Regions from separate parts of the Homo sapiens genome. Here regions 2 and 3 are each linked to region 1. The links are contacts of gene promoters, found by promoter capture Hi-C in human tissues and cell types (Jung and others, 2019). All regions are on one chromosome and are shown on one strand. The core of a region is centred on a gene start or on the middle of the fragment in contact, and the rest is flanking DNA. Distances in the headings are between cores, read along the strand shown.

Evidence for each region. Contacts are between HindIII fragments. The study calls those that stand out against the background at their distance.
Region 2: a contact is called between a fragment that was not itself captured here and the fragment with the promoter of QRICH2 in region 1, in 2 of the 25 tissues and cell types used here (adrenal gland and small bowel).
Region 3: a fragment that was not itself captured here is called in contact with the fragment with the promoter of QRICH2 in region 1 in 6 of the 25 tissues and cell types used here (H1 embryonic stem cells, bladder, hippocampus and 3 more).

Annotation. Positions count from the first base shown.
Region 1 is chr17:76,306,503-76,310,685 of GRCh38, forward strand. QRICH2 (glutamine rich 2) reads right to left here and starts at 1,774. Exons shown (of 19, transcript NM_001388453.1): 1 at 963-1,774. The coding sequence starts at 1,496. PRPSAP1 (phosphoribosyl pyrophosphate synthetase associated protein 1) reads right to left here. Exons shown (of 10, transcript NM_002766.3): 10 at 2,976-4,183. The HindIII fragment of the contact is 11,814 bases long and covers 1-4,183 here.
Region 2 is chr17:76,197,180-76,201,362 of GRCh38, forward strand. All of the region lies in intron 2 of RNF157 (ring finger protein 157), which reads right to left. Among named protein-coding and RNA genes, the nearest start is that of RNF157, 41 kb to the right of the region's middle. The HindIII fragment of the contact is 4,834 bases long and covers 41-4,183 here.
Region 3 is chr17:76,214,018-76,218,200 of GRCh38, forward strand. All of the region lies in intron 1 of RNF157 (ring finger protein 157), which reads right to left. Among named protein-coding and RNA genes, the nearest start is that of RNF157, 24 kb to the right of the region's middle. The HindIII fragment of the contact is 4,066 bases long and covers 1-3,892 here.

The sequences.
Region 1 (4,183 bases), core at 524-3,023:
CCTGGCGCTGACCTGCGTTGCTTCCTGCTGTTCACTGGACAATACTTATACTCAATGATTACATGCATTTGTCCCTCCAAGAAAACAAAAGTCCAGTTGAAGGCAGGGCTCAGTGGCTCACGCCTGTAATGCCCAGCACTTTGGGAGGCCGAGGCGGGCAGATCACTTGAGGTCAGGAGTTTGAGACCAGCCCCGCCAACATGGTGAAACTCCTTCTCTACTAAAAACACAAATATTAGCCAGGCGGGGTGGCGCGCGCCTATAATCCCAGCTACTCGGGAGGCTGAGGCAGGAGAATCGCTTGAGTCTGGGAGGCGGAAGTTGCAGTGAGCCGAGACTGCACCACTGCATTTCAGCCTGGGTGATAGAGTGAGACTCCTTCTCAAAAAAAAAAAAAGTCCAAGTGAAACGGTCCCCTGCCTGCTGTGGCTTGTGTCATGGCCATAGGAAGCTGAGGTCCAACTCTCCATCCTGACTCCCCTTCTCTGGGAGCCTTTGTCCTCAACACGTATCTCTTCATGTCCTTATTCATTTTAAAAAGGGAATTCACTCTAAGAATCTTCTGAGAAGTTGCCGGCCCCACTCTGAGCCAGCTCTGGGTCCTTGGATGTCTGATAAGTGGTGGGCGAACCTCTCCCGTAAACAGGGGCTAGGAAGGAGGGGGTGGGATGGGGCCACTACACTTAGGAGGTGGGGTCCCCAGGCCCCTCCAGCTCGGGGAGGCCCTAGGCCTTTTGGTGGCGTTCTTTTAGGATTTTCACGTCTTGCAGCCCCGTGGACTGCAAGGTAGAGCATGGGCCACTCTATTTAGCCAGTCGCACTGAGGTCTGGCACCTCCTCGGTCCCCATCCCCTCCGTCCCCACCACCGCTCACCCCTCCAGGGTGGTGGGGACTCGGCTAGGCCTGGAGGGCGGCCTGGAGGAGGCAGACGGCCTGCGCGTGCCTCCGTGTGCGTGCTCACCCTGGCAAAGCTGAGCTCCTCGGCGGCGTCCTTCATGATACTCCCAGTCCGCACCCTATCGAACGCCCGCACGCCCACCTCCTGCTCCTCCGGCCACTCTAGCGCGGCCAGGTCAAGCCCGCTGGCCTGGGAGAAGTGCTGCACGTGCGTGGCGATGCCCTGCACCTGGCCGTCCACACGCTTGAGCTGCTTGCTCAGGTCCTCCACCTGGCCGCCCAGGTCCTTCACTTGGCTCTCCAGCGCTGACGAAGGCGCCTGGCCCACGCCCCTGCGCTTCTCCCGGGGCGCCCCCTTGGGCACCTCCTTGGGCGCGGGCAGGTGCGGGATGCTGAACGAGCTCCGGACGGACTGCAGCGAGCGGCTGGGCTCGGGCGACGAGGGCTGGAAGTCGATCCGGGTATTTTGGAGGTCGAGGTTCTTGAGCATGGCCACGATGAGCGTGTGCAGGGCCGTGAAGTTGACGGCGCCCACCTCTGGCGTGCCGATGGAGAGGTCCGCCAGCTCCCGGAGGGAGACCGTGGTCGCGGGCGGCATCGTGGCTGTCAGGAGCTGTGCGCCGCCGCGGGGCGCCGGCCAACCACTTCCCGCTCACTGCACGCCGCGCCTTGGGGCCTTTCGGGGGCCCTGCGAGGTCCTCGGGGCGCCCCTGCCCCGGGTCCGGCCGAGTCACTGGACAGAGCTCCTGCCTCCAGGGAATCTGCGCCTCCGCTCCCCGGCGGGGTCCGCGATGGCCACCCCTCCGCTGTCTGTCGCTGGCCTCGGGTCCCCGAGCTGGAGCCCTGGACTCCCAGTCCCCGCGCCGGCGGACGTTTGAAACGTGGGGGCCCCCGCGTGCCCTGAAGATTCCACGTAACAACACGCCTCCCTGCGAGCCACGGGGGCGGGGGGAAGTAAAGGCCACCACAAGGATCACAAGGGGAGCCTTGGCAACGGGCTGAGGAGGCCTCCTAAGATCCAGCTAGACTCCATCCATCCCCTTAACCTAGAAAGGCCAGGATTCACTCACTCTTGGCGGGGCCACATAAGGAAAGACTTGAGGGTTTCCTGGCAACCATGCTTTGTGTCATCAGCTGCGTCCATTCCAGAGTGGTGGCCCCATGTCTATGGCCCCATGTCTAAGGGATGCAGTCCTGGGGCCCTGGTCCCCTCAGACAGTCCACATATTTTGTTCAATCAAAGGTGAAGCAACTTGGAAAAGACAACCCACTCACTATTCAGGCAGTTCCAATTAGCCACTAGATGACTAACTGGTGGCTAATTGTCCCTTTTCTGTGCTGCCATAATTTTTTTTTTACTTTTGAGAGGGAGTCTTGCTCTGTCGCCCAGGCTGTAGTGCAATGGCACGATCTCGGCTCACTGCAACCTCTGCCTCCCGGGTTGACATGATTCTCCTGCCTCAGCCTCCCGAGTAGCTGGGATTACAGATGCGTGGTACCATGCCCGGCTAATTTTTTGTATTTTTAGCAGAGACGGGGTTTCACTATGTTGGCCAGGCTGGTCTTGAACTCCCGACCTCAAGTGATCGACCCACCTCGGCCTCCCAAAGTGCTGGGATTACAGGTGTAAGCCACCGCGCCCAGCCTGCCATAAATTAATTGATCTCAAAAAAACGGCCAGGCTTGGTGGCTCACACCTGTAATCCCAGCACTTTGGGAGGCCGAGGCGGGTGGATCACCTGAGGTAAGGGGTTCAAGGCCAGCCTAGCCAACATAGTGAAACCCCTCTGCTAAAAATACAAAAAATTAGCCGGGCATGGTACCGCGCATCTGTAATCCCAGCTACTCGGGAGGCTGAGGCAGGAGAATCGCGTCAACCCGGGAGGCAGAGGTTGCAGTGAGCCAAGATCGCACCACTGCACCCCAGCCTGGGCGACAGTGCAAGACTCTGTCTCAAAAAAAAAAAAAAAGAAAAGAAAAGAAACCACTCACCTGGTCAAGCGCCTGTGCTTGAGCTCATTACAAAGCAGGATTAAACAGCACGAGACAAATCTGGTGTTAACAATTGAGACATGACTTCCCCATACAAGATTCTTCCCAAAAACGTATAAATAAAACTTCCTAACAGAAGCACAGCAAGGCTACTTAAAGAGAACCTATGAATGTGTGCCATGCATGGCCAGCCTCCTCCGTGAGCTCTGCATCTGCAGATTTAACCAACCACGACTGAACACGTACAGATTCCTGTCATGATTCTCTAAATAATACAGCATGACCACCATCTACACAGGATATTGCAGTAGGTATTACAAGTCATCCAGGATGTGCATAGCTTATATGCAGATACTACACCATTTTCTATCAGGGACTTGCACATCCATGGGCAGGAGGTTGAGTCCTGGAACCAATCACCCATGGATTGTAAGGAATAACTGTACTATTTTAACTACTGTTCAAGTTCAGATTTTTCACTTCAGCCTGAGAGGTACTGTTTATTTAATTGAAGGATTTTCGATCATCATTATATTCCAATAACTTGGGACACAGTAGGCCTTTAAGGGGTTATCAAAATAACTAGTTCTTTGCAGTCTTTTTTTTTTTTTGAGATGGAATCTTGCTCTGTCACTTGGGCTGGAGTGCAGTGGCACAATCTCAGCTCACTGCAATCTCTGCCTCTTGGGTTCAACCAATTAATTCTCCTGCCTCAGCCTCCCGAGTAGCTGGGATTACAGGCGTGCACCCCCTCCCCCAACACCCGGCTAATTTTTGTATTTTTAGTAGGGACAGGGTTTCACCATATTGGCCAGGCTGGTCTCAAACTCCTGACCTCAAGTGATCTGCCCACCTCGGCCTCCCAAAGTGCTGGGATTACAGGCGTGAGCCATGATGCCTGGCCTCTTTGTAGTCTTTTTATGCTTTTAACTTAGCTAGGCTAATTTTTGTATTTTTAGTAGAGACGGGGTTTTGCCATGTTGGCCAGGCTGGTCTCAAACTCCTGACCTCAGGTGATCTACCTGCCTCGGCCTCCCAAAGTGCAGGGATTACAGGCATAAGACACGATCCCTGGCCTGTTTTTTTTTTTTGAGACAGGGTGTTGCTCTGTCACCCAGGATGGATGGCAGTGGTACAATCATAGTTCACTGCAGCTTCAACCTCCTTGGCTCAGGCAATCCTCCCACCTCAGCCTCCCAAGGTAGCTGGAACTACAGGCACATGCTACCAATGCCTGGCTAATTTTTGTATTTTTTGTAGACATGGGGGTTTCGCCATGTTTCCCAGGCTGGT
Region 2 (4,183 bases), core at 1,208-3,707, 110 kb before region 1:
CATTCCCCTGTGGTGAAGGGGAATAGGAGACACGGGGCTGTATAATATCCAGGCGATTTTGATGTCTTGGTACAGGAGGTACAGGAGAAACAGTTACAGTAAGGACTGTGAAACTGGGTGACTGCTATTAAGAGGACTGTTTCATTGAAAAGAGAAAATGAGTTTCAGGTATAGCAATCAAAAATGTAAAGCCAACTATGAGCCTGGATGTGGTGGCTCATGCCTGTAATCCCAGAAATTTGGAAGGCTGAGGCGGGAAGATCACTTGAGGCCAGGTGTTTGAGACCACCCTGGGCAACACAGCAAGACCCCATCTTTATAAGAAAAACTAAAAATAAAGAAATAAAGCCAGCTATGATAGTCAGTAAGCTTCCTTTGGCAATTTTTACTTATTTATTAATTTATTTGAGATAGGGTCTCAATATGGTACCCAGGCTTGGAGTGCAGTGGTGTGAACATAGTTCACTGCAGCCTCAAACTTCTGTCTCAAGCCATCTTCCCACCTCAGCCTCCCGAGTGCTGGGATTACAGATGTGCCACCATGCCAGGCTGCTTTGGCAGCATTTAAAGACAATCATTTCCTGCAGGCACAAGACCTAATTTTAAGAGTGGCAGAATCAAAAAGGATGAACTCTCAGCCTATACTAGTCTACTGTGCCAGATTCAGGCCCTGGTAGGGAAGGAGTGAACTCTAAGACTTGAGATGGGAACGTCTGTGTATATTTATTTGAGGAACATGAACCCCAGATTCCCTAGGCTTGCAAATAGCCCTCTCCCTTGAAGATGGGAGGAACCTGCTCCTCCACCCTTCATGATTACACAGAGGTCTCAAATGAGGCGAGTAACTTAAAAGACAATGCTCACCCTACAGAGGACCTGCCCCCACCTTCCTTTCTGGCCACCCAACCATAATTAGGGCCATTATCTGAGTATTACTCAACCGGGGCCTGCTGGACCTGCAAAGAGAGGAGAGGGCTTATCATGCCAGAGGTGCTTGGGACCTGGCCAACAAAGGCACTAGCAGGACCTGGAGGATGTGTGGGAGGGGTTCCTGAGGGTGTTGGAATACAAAGTTGGATGAGGGAGAGCCTGTTGATACAGGGACATTCTCTTATGACACAGAATGAACACCTTGGCAAGAGCCTTGGATCTGATATGTGCTGGGGGAGGGGGGTTCTTGGGAGCTTGGAAAAATGATGGACCACAGTAATTGATTCCAAAACTGCCACAGAGATCTTTAGAGGAAAAGTTCAAAAGGCTTCGTGTCTACTCCACGAGAATAGGTCTGCACATAAAGTGGGAAAATCCACTAGCTGGCTGCGTCCTTTGGGGGGCCTGAACATACTCTAATTACCACACCCTAGATTCTGCCCCACACTGGTTACCAGCATAGGTTCTGCCGTATACGTCAGTGTCCTCTTCATTCCTTCTGCAGCCTGAGGTCAAACCTCCATCAAATCTCAGTTGGACAACTGGTTACCCTGTATCCGTTCTCATGACTCTCTAATCTACCTTCTACACTTCATCTGAGAGATCTTTTAAAATGTGTCTTCTGTGAGCCCCAGTTTAAAGCCCATTAGTGGTTCCCCACACCTACAGGACAAAAATTCGAAGCTCACAGGGAGGCATACCAGGCCCCTTGGTCCAGGCCTGGCATCTCAGTCTTATCTCTTGCAAAGTCTCCTCCCACCCTCTGGATGCCACACCTGCTTATGCTGAATCACCTGCAGTGCACACACCGTCTGTTGGTGAGATGTCTCTGTGCCTCTGCTCATGGGCCCTCCTCCGACGTGTTCATGTTTCCTAGCTGTACAACTCCTTCAGGCAGGGACTGCATTTCATCGGTATTTCTAGTGTCTAACATCAGCCTGGAGAACAATGGGTATTCCACAGAATGTAAATGATTGAGGGAATAATGAAGGAGTGAGCCAGTTAGTCAGTGATTTGTGTAACAGAGAGGGGAAAGAAGATCAAAGTTGGCAACATGTTATGATCATTTAAGAAAACTATCTTCTCAACTAGTACAGAGACCAGATTAAAACATGAACAAAGAAGAAACTATTCCTTCCTCTACTTTCTCTTCCTCCTTCTCCCAGTGTACTTATATTCCAAATTGGTTTTGGCTGGAGTGCAGTGGCTTGATCACAGCTCACTGTGGCCTCAACCTCACAGGCTCAAGTGATCCTTCCACCTCAGCCTCTTGAGTAGCTGGGACTATAGGCACGCTCCATCATACACAGCTAATTTCCTTTATTTTTTGTAGAGGGTCTCACTATGTTGCCCAGGCTGGTCTTGAACTCCTGGGCTCAAGTGATCCTCCCACTTTGGCCTCCCAAAGTGCTGGGTTTATAGATGTGAGCCACTGTGCCCTGCCAAAAGCAGCTGAAAGTTAAAAAAAAAAAAAAAAAAAAAAGAACAGCTGGCAGGAAGAGCCACATCAATACTAATAGGTATAAACACTGATTCAACTTCTCTGGGAGTGCCCCTTCTTATCACTGGTGATCTCAACGTGAAGTGTGACTGCACTTGGTGACGCAGCTCGCTGGTCTCCATCCTACTGCCACCTGCTCATGCTACTGGGACCCCGTCTCTCTGAAGATCCACCTACCATAGAAATCCAACTCCATAAAACAGAGGGATAATGTCCTCATCTTTATTAAGGATGAAAAGTAATATAAGTTGAATAAAGTGCTTTTTGTAAGAACATAAAAACAAGTTAAATTTCAAAACTGAACCTACAACAAGCCTACATAATTTCATAAAACTAGGCATTTCAGGTCGGGCGCGGTGGCTCACGCCTGTAATCCCAGCACTTTGGGAGGCCGAGGCGGGCGGATCACGAGGTCAGGAGATCGAGACCATCCTGGCTAACATAGTGAAACCCCGTCTCTATTAAAAATACAAAAAAAAAAATTAGCCGGGTGTGGTGGCGGGCGCCTGTAGTCCCAGCCACTCCGGAGGCTGAGGCAGGAGAATGCTGTGAACCTGGGAAGCGGAGCTTGCAGTGAGCCAAGATCGCGCCACTCCATGCCAGCCTGGGCGACAGAGCGGGACTCCGTCTTGTCAAAAAAAAAAACAAAAACAAAAACCAAAAAAAACCGAGGCATTTCTTCCCTAGCCCAATAGCCAAAAGGCAGGAGCAACCCAAGTGTCTGTCTATTGATGGATGAATGGATATACAGTGTATCGATATAATGGCATATTATTCAGCCTTAAAAAGGAAATTCTGACACATGCTACAACATGGATGAACCAAGCACATGCCAAGTGAAATAAGCCAGTCACAAAAGAACAAATATTCTATGATTCAACTCGTATGAGGTACCTAGAGTAGTCAAACTCATAGAGGCAGAAAACAGAATGGTGGAGGCCAGAGGCTGGTAGGAGAGGGAAATGGTGAGTCAGTGTCCAGTGGGGACAGAGTTTCAGTTTTGTGAGATGAAAGGAGTTCTGGAGACTGTACAACGATGTGTGATGAGCAGGGTGGTCACCCCTGGGGAAGGCGTGGAAGTAGGGAGACATGTATTATAAGAATGCCTTAAGTGAAACTCTTTAAAGCCCTAAACCATTTTAAAAGTATGAATATTCATCCTCTAGTTCTTTTACTGTCAGGTTGCTGAAAAGCAGGCCACTTCCATACTGAATCTCATACCATTTCGAATCAACTGTTTCTAAAGGTGAATTACTGCATGTTGGCACCAAGAGGACCGAGCTCCCTGACTCTCCTCCTCCCCATGCTTACTCTGGTTTTCTGTCTTTCTCCGCAAGCCCCCAGACACTTCCTGGCACACATCCCAACCCCAGCGAGCAGACCCTACCTTTCCTGTAGTTCACTAAAAAATTAAAACCATTATTTTGTGAACTCCCTTAATTTTCCTACTTCTAAATATTCTTCTAAACCTATTTCCTTCCTCTACTTAGAAGTATTTCCACCTCTATTTTTAAAGAAAATTAAAATACTTTTCATTTAAAAATGAAAACACGTTCACTGGAAAAAATTCAAACAACATAGAAGAATATGAAGAGCCGGGCACAGTGGCTCACACCTGTAATCCCAGCACTTTGGGAGGCTGAGGCAGGAGGATTGTTTGAGCCCAAGAGTTCAAGACCAGCCTTGGCAACATAGTGAGACCCTAGTCTCTACAAAAAAAAAAAAAAAAAGAGAAAAAGAAAAAATTTTAAA
Region 3 (4,183 bases), core at 610-3,109, 92 kb before region 1:
GTTCTGTGAGTCCCTCTAGCAAGTTAATCACACCCAAGGAGGGGGTTATGGGAACCCTGCTTTCTGGTTGGTTAGTTGGAAGCACAGGTAAAACAACCTGGGGCTTGCGATGGGCATCAGAAGTGGGGGGCAGTCTTGTGAGATTGCACCCTCAACCTGTGGGATGGGACACTATCTTCAAGTAGTATCAGAAGTGAAATGAATTGGAGGACACCCAGCTGGTGTCCTCTGCAGAACTGAGTGGTTGCTGGTGGAGAGAATCCCCACACATTTTGCTGACCAGAGGTCACAGAAGTTTTCTGTGCTGCTTGTGTTGTGAGTGTATAGGAGAAACTGAGTTTTTTTCCTATATCCGCAGACGCACACATTTCTTTGCCTAGATTTTCATAAGCCAGCTTATACCTACACACAGAAGTCTCAGTACCCACCCACCACTACTGCTATACCTCCATAACCTTCTATGATGAAGGTTCTTCACACTTTAACTTGCTGCAAACATTATTGTTTCACAGGAAAATACGAATTTAGATAATACAGTTATCCCTGGCTTTCTCTACCAATTACTACACAGACTATGGTGTAAAATAAGGGGACAATTTAATGCTATGAAAGAAGGCTACACACATACCCTCTCCACCTCAAATTCATTAACAGTGCTAATGGCCAGAACTGCTGGGACATCAGTCATGGCAGGGCCCCTTTGCCCCTTCTTAATCAGCCAGGAGGCAGAAATATTTTCAGTGCAATATAATAACCAAATGAAATCAGCAGTCAGGGGCCAAAATTCCCATCAGCCTCATCCGGACAAACCAAGGAACTGTGACAGGATATGATGGAACTGAGAAGTCACCAAAGGAGGCTTAGGTTATGCTGAAAATTACATCTGGGAATACATTTTAAGTTTGATGATTAAACGAATGCCGCTTACCTCTAATTTCTATTATCTAATTCTCCCATGAAGGTAAGCTGTCCAAAGTAAAGGACACATCCCATAATATACCTTTATCAACACTCTCATATACCCCATTTCTGAAATTAACACAAGGAACTTATTAAGTGGCAAAAGGCTTGCTTGTGTATAATACATTGAGGATATACACAAACTCCCTAAATCAGTTGCAATTTTTGTTGAAGATTTGTAGCAGGCAGGGTGTGATGGATCTTGCCTGTAATCCTAAAACTCTGGATGGCTGAGGCAGGAGAATTGCTTTAGGCCAGGAGTTGGAGACCAGCTTGGGCAACTTAGCAAGCTTAGCAAGACCTTGTCTCTACTAAAAACAAAACAAAAAATAAATAAAAATACAAAAATTAGTTGGGCATGGTAGCATGCGTCTGGAGTTCTAGCTACTCAGAAGGCTGACGCAGAAGGGTCGCTTGAGTTCAGGAGTTCAAGGTTGCAGCGAGCTATGATTGCCACTGCACTCCAGCCTGGGTGACAGAGTGAGACCCTCTCTAAGAAAAAAAAAAGAAAGAAAGAAAAAAGAAAAGAAAAGAAAAAAGGAAAAAAAGATTTATAGCAAACTAAAAAAAAAAAAAAAATGAGATTCAGTACTTTGAGCCTGTGGAGAAGCCATAGGAAGGAAGACAGAGAAGAAAATTCTAGCAAAAACTGAACCAAACATTCATTTTTAAAACTTTCTACACAAGGAGCTTTAGTCTAGAAACATCTATTAAATAAAACAATGTGGATAAAATCACTCACCACAAAGTGAGGCAACTATTGAATTAAACAAGCAGGAAAACATTCTTTGAGAGTAATAATGCAACCCAGATCAAAGCAATCACTGAGGAACTACTGAAAGTCACCCATTAAAACTTAAAAAGACAAAGGGCAGCCATCTGATACAGTGATACAACAGCAGAATTCATCATTTAGGAAAGCTTAATTATCAATTATTTATGTCTGGCACTTGCTAGCCCTATTTTCCAAGTGCATAATTTATGGAGAGGGGAGGTACCTAGTTGCCTTAAGTAGAAGCAGCAATCTCAAATAATTTAAGTCATTTACTGATGAACTTCAGCAAGATATATTTTCTATGCATCAGGAATTATACATTTATCATATATTAGGTAAAATTGGAAAAGTTAAAGATGTTACACAGATGGATGGCTTGCCCAAATCATGAAAAAAGAAAGGGAGAGAAGAGAGTTTGATGTCTGGAATTGTCTAGGTTGACCTCAGTGTGGGACCACTGAGTTTCCAGTACCTGTGAGATCTCAGGGGAGGGATCTGGGGCAGTAAAAATCCATGGATGATTGGCTTAGAGGTGGCCATGATTGAACCTAGCGAGAGAGGACCCCTAATGATTTGGGGGCTAAAGAGTTAAAGCAGGCAACAGGGTTCGATTAGAAATGCCCTTTTATGCCATAATATTAAAAGAAAAGAAATGACCACAAAAGATGTGTAGAGCTAATTGTAGTTTTGCCTTGCATTAAAATCAAGAATAGTCTGGGTGTGGTGGCTCACACCTGTAATCCTAGCACTTTGGGAGGCCAAGGTGAGAGGATCACTTGAGCCCAGGAGCTCAAGACCAGCCTAGGCAACATGGTGAGGCTCTGTCTCTGTATATTTAAAAATAATAATAATAATAATACTATGGTATATTCAGTCAGTAGAGTATTATGAAGCCTTTCAAAGTGGTGTTGTAAATCTATATCTACTGACATTAAAAATGTTCACAATATATTATAATTAGACCCTTGTCTCGACAAAAAATTAAAAAATTAGCTGGGTATGATGGCCCAAGCCTGTGGTCCCAGCTACTCAATAGGCTGAGGTGGGAGGATCACTTGAGCCCAGGAGGTCAGGCCTGCAGTGAGCCATGACTGCGCCATTACATTCCAGTCTGGGTAAAAGAGCAAGACCCTGTGTCAAAAAAAAACAAAAACAAAAACAAAAAACAAACAAACAAACAAAAAACCCCATAAAAGCTATATAAGCTGTATACTTATAACTGGGAATGATTTTCTCAAAATTACAAAGTTGGCAAAATTGTTCTTACTTTTACTTAAAATTAGCTTGAACACCTGTTCAATCACTCAATAATTCTTTAGCAATATTAATTTCTAAACTTTTGGTTATTAAGGGGAAGACGCATAAAATGTGCAAGATTGTATGAATTAAAAAGAGCTCCCCAAACCTTCATCTATTTTTTGTTTGTTTTTGTTTTTCTGTAGAGATGGAGTTTCACCATGTTGGCCAGGCTGGTCTCAAACTCCTGGGTCAAGAGACCTGCCCGCCTCAGCCTCCCAAAGTGTTGGGATTACAGGTGTGAGCCACCGAGCCCAGCCATCCTCATCTGTTAAAAGGAAAAATAAATTTACTTATTGGTATTTCATTTTACAACCAAAAATTTGCTTTTTCCTTTCTTTGAAATGAACCCCTCTAGCAGCTTGCTTTCATTTAGACAAATGAGAAAAGCAAATCAGCCTTTTTCAGACTGAATAAAGCTTTCTACTTGCTCAGTCTTTCTAGAGGGACAAATTGGTGCACAGCTATGTATAGCTACTAGATCATCAGATACCAACACCAAACACATCAACAGTCCCCAAACAAGATGACTTTTAGACAGCTTATGCATATTTTTACTTCTTAACACAATGAACTGTGCTTCAAAATCAGTGGTGGGGGAAAAGAACTCTACTAAAGTACTTCTTTGCCTATTTGTTACCAGGAGAAACACGTCACTCACAGATAAACTGCAGAACTCAACTAAAATACACCCTTGCCTATTTGCTAACGGGAAAAAAACATATGTCACTAGTAGATAAACTTCGAGTGTTTCATTATTAGTGAGCTATAATTTATTAATCAAAACTCATATTCAGAATTCTTTGCAGGCTTTAAAAAGTCACATCATACACATATCTCCAAGATTATACGTAAACCGTAAGGTATGAGTGGGAAGGAGAAAGGGGAAATTAATGTTTAACAAGTACATAGTTTTAGTTTTATAAAATAAAAAAGTTCTAGACATCTGTTGCAAAACAGAGTGAATATATGTAACACTAATGAATGCTTAAAAATGGTTACTATGATTAAATTTAACGTTATGTGTTTTTTTGCCACAATAATAAACACATAAATATCAAGAAAAAAAACCAAAAGGTATGAGCCAGAATGATCAACACTAAGACAAGTTCAGTAAAATGACTGACCTTTAAAGAAAGAAAGGCACCCAGG